Regions from separate parts of the Homo sapiens genome. Here all the other regions are linked to region 3. The links are contacts of gene promoters, found by promoter capture Hi-C in blood cells and fetal thymus (Javierre and others, 2016). All regions are on one chromosome and are shown on one strand. Each heading gives the region's core, a stretch centred on a gene start or on the middle of the fragment in contact. The rest is flanking DNA. Distances are from core to core; before and after follow the strand shown. Region 1 overlaps PSTPIP2 (proline-serine-threonine phosphatase interacting protein 2). Region 2 overlaps EPG5 (ectopic P-granules 5 autophagy tethering factor). Region 3 holds the start of SLC14A2 (solute carrier family 14 member 2).

Evidence for each region. The method cuts DNA at HindIII sites, captures the fragments that hold promoters and counts their contacts. A CHiCAGO score of 5 or more calls a contact.
Region 1: a contact is called between a fragment that was not itself captured here and the fragment with the promoter of SLC14A2 in region 3, in 1 of 17 cell types (naive CD4 T cells). The highest score is 5.9, in naive CD4 T cells.
Region 2: a contact is called between a fragment that was not itself captured here and the fragment with the promoter of SLC14A2 in region 3, in 1 of 17 cell types (naive CD8 T cells). The highest score is 6.0, in naive CD8 T cells.

What each region holds. Positions count from the first base shown.
Region 1 is chr18:45,981,748-45,984,447 of GRCh38, forward strand. PSTPIP2 (proline-serine-threonine phosphatase interacting protein 2) reads right to left here. Exons shown (of 15, transcript NM_024430.4): 15 at 1,789-2,700. Among named protein-coding and RNA genes, the nearest start is that of EPG5, 16 kb to the left of the region's middle. The HindIII fragment of the contact is 777 bases long and covers 969-1,745 here.
Region 2 is chr18:45,915,692-45,918,391 of GRCh38, forward strand. It overlaps EPG5 (ectopic P-granules 5 autophagy tethering factor), which reads right to left. Exons shown (of 44, transcript NM_020964.3): 17 at 1,988-2,128; 18 at 747-891; 19 at 318-515. Among named protein-coding and RNA genes, the nearest start is that of EPG5, 50 kb to the right of the region's middle. The HindIII fragment of the contact is 970 bases long and covers 766-1,735 here.
Region 3 is chr18:45,614,152-45,616,851 of GRCh38, forward strand. It overlaps SLC14A2 (solute carrier family 14 member 2), which reads left to right and starts at 1,325. Exons shown (of 20, transcript NM_007163.4): 1 at 1,325-1,431. All of the region lies in intron 8 of LOC105372093 (a long non-coding RNA gene), which reads right to left. The HindIII fragment of the contact is 14,354 bases long and covers 1-2,700 here.

The DNA of each region.
Region 1 (2,700 bases), core at 107-2,606, 370 kb after region 3:
GGGTTTCACCATGTTGGCCAGGCTGGTCTCAAACTCCTGACCTCAAGTGCTCTGCCAGCCTTGGCGTCCCAAAGTGCTGAGATTACAGGCATGAGCCACCGCATCTGGCCTCTTCCTCTTCTTAGGAGAACACCAGTCACTAGGATTAGGGCCCCACCTCAACGGCCTCCCTTCAATTTAATCACCTCTTTAAAGGCTCTGTCTCCAAACATGGCCACATTCTGAAGTACTGGCTGGCAGCTGGGACTTCAACATATGAATTGTGTGTGAGGGTGGGGTGCATGATTCATCCATAATAGTAGGGGGAGGAAGGAGATGATGAATATCAATTATGGATTTAAGATTATCTGTAAGAACAGGAAATATAGCTGGTCCTGCTAACTGTTTCCTTTGTATGTGTGTGTGTCTGTTTTTGGAAGTTGGGACTTGAAGAAGTAGTGATAGGATGGAGTAAAAAGTGGGGTATGGATGCATCTGAACCATGTGGGGTCAGATGCTGTCAATGCCCCATCCACATCCCTTCAGTACCTCTCAATTCCTTAAACACACAGTTCCAACTGTCAGGAACTGTGTTCCTGCCTAAGGACCCTCTCAGACTGTTCCCACTCTCCAGCGTTGGAGGCAGCCCAGAAGTGCTGGGAAATTAATGCCTCCTAGGAGCATTCTGCAACCAGTGACTGACAGGAGTTGGTGAATAAATACTCCAGCTCCCTTGTGGCTTAGGTGCAATATCTCCTAAGTGTGTGTGTGTTCTTTTTTTTTTTTTTTTTTTCTTGAGACAGAGTCTCACTCTGTTGCCCATGCTGGAGTGCAGTGGCGCGCGATCTTGGCTTACTGCAACCTCCACCTCCCGGGTTCAAGCAATTCTTCTGCCTCAGCCTCCTGAGTAGCTGGGATTACAGGCACGCGCACCATGCCCAGCTAATTTTTTAATTTTTAATAGAGACAGGATTTCACCATGTTGGCCAAGCTTGTCTCGAACTCCTGACCTCAGGTGATCCACCTGCCTCGGCCTCCCAAAGTGCTGGGATTACACCGCACCCAGCCCCAGTTGTGTGTTCTGCACTGTTTCCTGGGAGTCTTCAACAAGAGTAAGCTCCAGCTGCCTGCCATGTAGCTTACTTGATAATGCACACTGTTTTTGCCTTTCTTCCTTTCCCTATCTGGCTTCCCCACTTCCATACTGGCACTTTCTGGAAAAAGTACTTGTACACAAATCCTTATCTCGGGGTCTGCTTCTGATGGAACCCAAATTAATATACCAACAGTCTGTAGAATAGCTCACATTTACTAAATTTAACACATGTACTCGTTTGGCTTCACTCACTTTGCACTCCTTATTTCTCTTTCAAGTGGTTGTTTCTCTAGCTATGTTTTCTTATGGGCCACTAATTCTTTCATAGTCTCTACTATGTGCCAGGTGCTGGAGATACAGCAGGAAAAAGAATAGACAATGGCCCTGCTACCATTGGGGTTCCAGTCTAAAAAGGAAGACAGGCTTTGAACAATTAATTTCAAGGGTGAATCATATCATAACAAGGAAAATGGAGGGGGAGGAGAGATACAGTAGTTGGATCCAACCTAGTCTGAAGGCAGAGATGGTGTCTCGCAGAGGAAGTAACACTGCAATTGACCTCTGAAGGATTAGTACAAAGTAGTTCGGCACCATCTCCATTTGGCTTCCCTGACCAGCGGTTTGTCTTTTTGAAGCCTAACAATCACAAATGTGGCAAGGGATCAAATAAAGCTTGGAAGAGCGATATGGTCAACACAAAAATACGAAACAAATCCCAAATTACCAAGAACCTTTATTTAACCTACCAAACTAAAAGAGCAATAAAATAAAAATATTTTCCATCCACAAAACGGTTTTACATCAACTACACTGACCAATACAGAGAAAAGGGAAATCCCTGAGGAACTGCCAACAATAAATAATATACTTAAAATAGAATGTTCTGAGTGTAAAGGAACATTTCCTGAGCCCGTTCAGTTTGGGGAAATTTGGCCCTTTGCAAAATTCAGTTTCTCAAAAGGATATCCAACTGATGCAAGTTTCCTGTCATGACAAGAAGCTGTCATGTTCAGTAGCACCTTACACGAAAGGTGGGGAAATAGGCCGGGCGCAGTGGCTCACGCCTGTAATCCCAGCACTTTGGGAGGCCGAGGCAGGTGGATCACCTGAGGTCAGGAGTTTGAGACCAGCCTGACCAACATGGTAAAACCCTGTCTTTACTAAAAATACAAAAAATTAGCCAGGTGTGGTGGTGGGTGCCTGTAATCCCAGCTACTCAGGAGGCTGAGGCAGGAGAATCACTTGAACCCGGGAGGCAGAGGTTGCAGTGAGCTGAGATCATGCCGCTGCACTTCAGCCTGGGGGACAGAGAGAGACTCTGTCTCAAAAAAAAGAAAAAAAGATGAGGAAATAATCAATCTTCTTCTGATCAATTTGTCCATAGTTCTGGAAAAGCTACTGCACAGAGCAGGAGAGGAAACTATTTGCTCTCTGTAATACTGAAAAACTGAGAGTGCTATTTTAACTTGTCAATAACTAAAAGGTACCATTTTCTCATAGTGCACAGGTGTTGTACAAAAAGTACATGACCTCCCTGCTGTTTGTGAGTGAAAAAGGAAAACCCAAATATTTGTGAAAGTGTAAGACGGATGCATTTAAAATTCTGGGGTCTAGCAAGGGAAAGA
Region 2 (2,700 bases), core at 1-2,500, 300 kb after region 3:
ATCAGCAACTGTCTTACTACAATACAAGATTCTGATAAGACAGAGATTTCAAGGATGAGTCCACCAGCAGCAATAGTCCAAGGCAGAGCATTACAGCCAAATGTAACAAGCGGGACTCTTCCTGGGCTGTCCTTTCCAACTTCCCTAGGGTCTACGCTAGTGGACTACGATTATCGGGATAAGGTACCATTAAGGCAAAGCTTAAAGAAGGTAATGGCCACAGAGTAGAACTGAAAACTGTACTTGGGGGAATCTTTTTAGAAAGCTACTTTATCTAGCCAATCACTGAAAGATAAATTCTCTAACAGGTTAATTACCTTATGTTGTTGGTAGAGTAATTTCTGTATGCAGTCTTCCTGCATCAGCTGAAAAGCTGCTTTACACAAGTGGTCCATGAGGAAGAGGATAGGTTGTTCTCGGTACCAGAGATGCTGGCTTATGAGAGCCTGAACCCAGAACTCCAACACAGCAACGGGGCCCACTTCATTGGGCTGAGTGCTTACAGATATGTGTGCCTGTGGAGAAAAGGCTCATGTGATGGGAAAGATAACAACCAGCCTCTCATTTTTTAAATAGCAACAAAATGCTATCTACCTCCACTACAAATCCCAAATCTATTGCCTTTCTTGGCCAAAAGCACACTAAGCCAAGTGATCTGAAATGACTAAAACCTAAGTGTGCTAACGCTAGAGGTCTTGGTTGGGAAGACAGGCGGGAGTGTGCTTAGGGGCTTGCAAGGCCCTCACCTGGATCATGCTGTTGAGAAGCTTCACGTTGTCCCCATGGCTGGCTCCTGTCAGGTGCTGTGCCACCTTGTGGGTGACCTGTTGTGTGACACCCTGAGGGACACCGCTGTCCAAGTGTAGGAACAAGAGGAGATGCGATAAAAACCTGCCAAGCACACAGGAGGACGCACTTTACCTTCCGATCAGAACTCAACAGAATTTTCCCTAATTACTTATGAGGAAACAGAAAATTCCTAAATTGGTCCCATTTTTCGACCAAAGCACTATTTAAGAAGGGATTCTAGAAGAATAAAGTTTTCACATTTAACATGGGTTAAAAGGAATTCTATCTACCCACAGAGGTATTAAGAACAGATCCACGACACACAAACACATGCAAGTTAAACAGCATTAGAGGAAAAACACCCAAAGGCACCACTCTCCCCTCCTCACTCCCCAACTCCATGAATAAAGGCAGAGATGTTTCCAAACCATTCAGTTTCCAAACTTGCCTCATACCCAGGGTGCTGATTCTTAAAAAGGGGTTGAAGGGTTAGGTGAGTAGTTCCCAGGACCTAACCCATTTCTACTAAAGTAACATCTCCGGGGGAGAAACCTGGGAATCCATATTTAATAAGCTCTTTTGGGCAAATTGGAGACATACTGCTTGAAAAGACACATAACAGGAAAACTGTAATGCTCCCCTTGTGCCTTTGGATGTACTTCATGTCCCCACTGTACAGGGTTCCTCCATATGGGGTGAGGCCTCACCTCCCCTTTCATCACTGTTCATGAGGCCCCAGCCAGATGCTTTACTCTTGCCTCCCTAGACAGGTTGTTCTCTTCCCACCTTCCTAGCATCTTATCTGTTTGCAACACTGCACTATGTGCACTGTAAACAATTTAAAACAATCTTTTCTATTGTTACAATGGCAAACCATTTGCTGCTTAATATCAGAAGCACGATTCCCAGAATCTCAGGGAAACAACTGCTCCTTCATATACTATTAAGCTTTAATAAGCAATTCAAAGTTATAATAAATGAAAAGGAAAAATATCTTTCATGGTAATAAAACTGGAGTCATTATTAGAATCACTGTTCATCAACCTGCATTCTAAACTGGGGTGCAGAATATTTTTGCCCCATAATACGCTGTTGAAATAGCATTCCCTTTATTTTACTTAAGAAACCAGAAGACACAATCATTTGTACTTGCTGGACTGTTTAAGAGTGTCTCCTGCCATAGATGGAACACACTTACTGCTCATTCTTCAGAAGGTAATACTGGCAAGGGTAAAATAAAGGCAGAATCTTATCCAGGACATGAACCACTGTTCTCAAATGTCTTGACTGGACCAGAATTCCCAATAGTGGGATGCCTTCTGCACAGAACTTCTCAATGCTATGGAAAAAGAGAAAGGCACTGAATACACAAGGGAGCTGGTTCATAAAATTCTGTTCTTCCAATGAGTTATGAGCCTTCAATACCTTGGGTTATCTCAGGTCTCCAACACATGTTTTATACCCAATCTTCACACAGAAATACTAAACCCAGAATTCTAGAATTGCAAAGAAACTTAAAAGTTAATCTTTATTTTCATTGTATGGATGAGGAAGGTGAAGTATCATGCCCAAATTCACATAATTTCCTAGAGTAAGGTCAAAATGAGAACGCCAGTTTGCAAATTTCTAATCCAGAGTGCTCTCTACTACCATATTTTATTTCTCAAAAAGAGCTTCTCCTAAGAGCCGTAGGGACTCTCCTTGTCTGGATATTCCCACAAGGTATCACAGCAAAGAGGAGACTCAAAAGTGACCTCAATCTGTCAGTACAGGTTGACTATCCCTTAACTGAAATGCTTGAGACCAAGTATTTTAGATTTTGGAACACTCGTATCATACTTAAAAGCTGAGCATCCCTAATCCAAAAGTCCCAAATCCAAAATGCCCCAATGAACATTTCCTTTGAGTGCA
Region 3 (2,700 bases), core at 75-2,574:
AGGCCATTGCTTCAGAGGGTGCAAGCCTCAACCCATGGCGGCTTCCATGTGGTGTTGAGCCTGCAGGTGCACAGAAGTCAAGAATTGAGGTTTGGGAACCTCCACTTAGATTTCAGAGGATGTATGAAACGCCAGGATGTCCAGGCAAAAGTTTGCTGCAGGGGTAGAGACCTCATAGAGAACCTCTGCTAGGGCAGTGCAGAAGGGAAATGTGAAGTTGGAGCCCCCACACAGAGTCCCCACTGGAGGACTGCCTAGTGGAGCTGTGAGAAGAGGACCACCGTACTCCAGACCCCAGAATGGTAAATCCACTGTCAGCTTGCACTCTGCACCTGGAAGAGCCACAGACACTCAACACCAGCCTGCGAAAGCAGCAGGAGGAGAGCTATACCCTGCAAAGCCACAGAAGCAGAGCTGCCTGAGTCTGTGGGAGCCCACCTCTTGCATCAGCATGACCTGGATATGAGACATGGAGTCAAAGGAGATTATTTTTGAGATTTAAGATTTAATGACTGCACCACTGGATTTTGGACTTGCGTGGGGCCTGTAGCCCTTTGTTTTGGCCAATTTCTCCCATTTGAAATGGGAGCATTTATCCAATGCCTCCTGCACCCCCACTGTATCTTGGAAGTAACTAACTTGCTTTTTTTTTTTTTTTTTTTTTTGAGACACAGTTTGCTCTGTCACCCAGGCTGGAGTACATTGGCACTATCTTGGCTCACTGCAACCTCCACCTCCCAGGTTCAAGAGATTCTTCTGTCTCAGCCTCCCAGTAGCTAGGACTACAAGTGTGTGCCACCACACCCTGCTAATTTTTGTATTTTTAGTAGAGACAGGGTTTCACCACATTGGCCAGGCTGGTCTCGAACTTCTGACGTCAAGTGATCCACCCGACTCGGCCTCTCAAAGTGCTGGGATTACAGGCGTGGGCCGCCGCACCCGGCCATTTGCTTTTGATTTTACTGGCTCATAGGTGGAAGGGACTTGCCTTGCCTCAGATGAAACTTTGGACTTTGACTTTCAAGTTAATACTGGAATAAGTTAAGACTTTGGGGGACTGTTGCTAAGGCACAATTTTGTTTTGAAATGTATAAAGAACATAATATCTGGGAGGGGCCAGGGGCAGAATGATATGGTTTGGCTCTGTGTCCACACCTGAATATCATCTCAAATTGTAATCCCAGTAATCCCCATATGTTGAGGGCAGGACCCAGGGCAAGGTGACTGGATCATGGGAGCGGTTTCCCCCATGCTGTTCTCGTGATAGTGAGTGAATTCTCACAAGATCTGATGGTTTTATAAGTGTTTGGCAAGTTCCTGCTCCACACCATCTCTCTCTTCTGCCGCCATTTGAGAAGGTCCAAGTTTGCTTCCCCTTCGCCTTCCACCATGACTGTAAGTTTCCTGAGGCCTCCCCAGCAATGTGGAAGTGTGAGTCAATTAAATTTCTTTTTTTTTTTTTTCTAATAAATCACCCACTCTCAGGTAGTTCTTTATAGCAGTATGAGAATGGACTATTGCAGTGGGGGAGCCAGGATTTGAATCCAGGTATTCTGTCTCCACTGTGCCACCACTGTCTAATAACACTAAAATTAACTACCTAGAGCCACCTCGGGGCAGCTTGTGTATATAAGTATGTGTGCATGTGTGTATGTGTAGGGGTGTATGTGTGTGTGTGTGTGTGTGAGAGAGAGAGAGAGAGAGAGAGGGAGAGAGAGAGACTACTACATTGTGAAATAGTCCACCACACAAGCCAGAGCAGAGGTCACCATGCTCCTAAGAGGCCAGGAAGGCACCATGGCCATGTTAGGGGTGGGTGTGTGAGCAGGATGTGTGTGAGTAAAGGAGATCAATATTCGTGCATGTGGAACTGAATTGGAGGTAGCTGTGGGACCTCAGGAGGCCACCTGCCCAGAACAGTGGCACACACTGCAGAGAAGCTGAAAATTGTCTTGGGCACAAGTGGAGCACCCCTGGGTAGAACCGAGGGAGATTGAGAACAGTTGCTATCTTCAGAGCTTTTTAACTTCTCCCCCTAAGTAGCCTCAACTGATGGGAGAATTGACACATTACCCCTACGTAATAGGTGGGCACAGCCTGAAGCAGCCACCTGCAGACTCTACATTTCTTCCCTTTATATTTTATTTTAATAATATAAAGAGTTGCATTTGACTATTTTATAAACCATGTTTGCTTAAATATACAACTATTATTCTATATTAGTTCATATCAAGCTCAATCAGCATTCCAGAAAACTGTGCTTCTCAGTGCCCTGGGCATTGACTACTCTGGCTCAGAGTTTCATGCCCAGTTTCAGGAGCGAAGCACTCAGACATGGAGCACCTCAGAAGGTTTTTGAGCAGTGGCACGACCAAGTCATGTTTTAAGATAATTTACCCATCACCAGTGGCAAGGTGGAGAAAAACTGGGGAGACTGAAGTGAGGGAAATCAGCTAGAAGGTGACCTGCGTTGGGGAGGGCCTGGCTTAAAGGGAGATAATGGGCTGATCCAGACTGAGGGCTCTGAAGGAGAACTCGATGGCTGAATAATTGCAACTGATGGAATGCAAGAGGCAATAAATAAATTGCCATTTATTCATGGGATGAGAGGGCTCAATATGTGGAACATTGAAGGGTCACCCCACTTTAGAAGTGTCACATAAGGACCGGGTGCAGTGGCTCACACCTGTAATCCTAGCA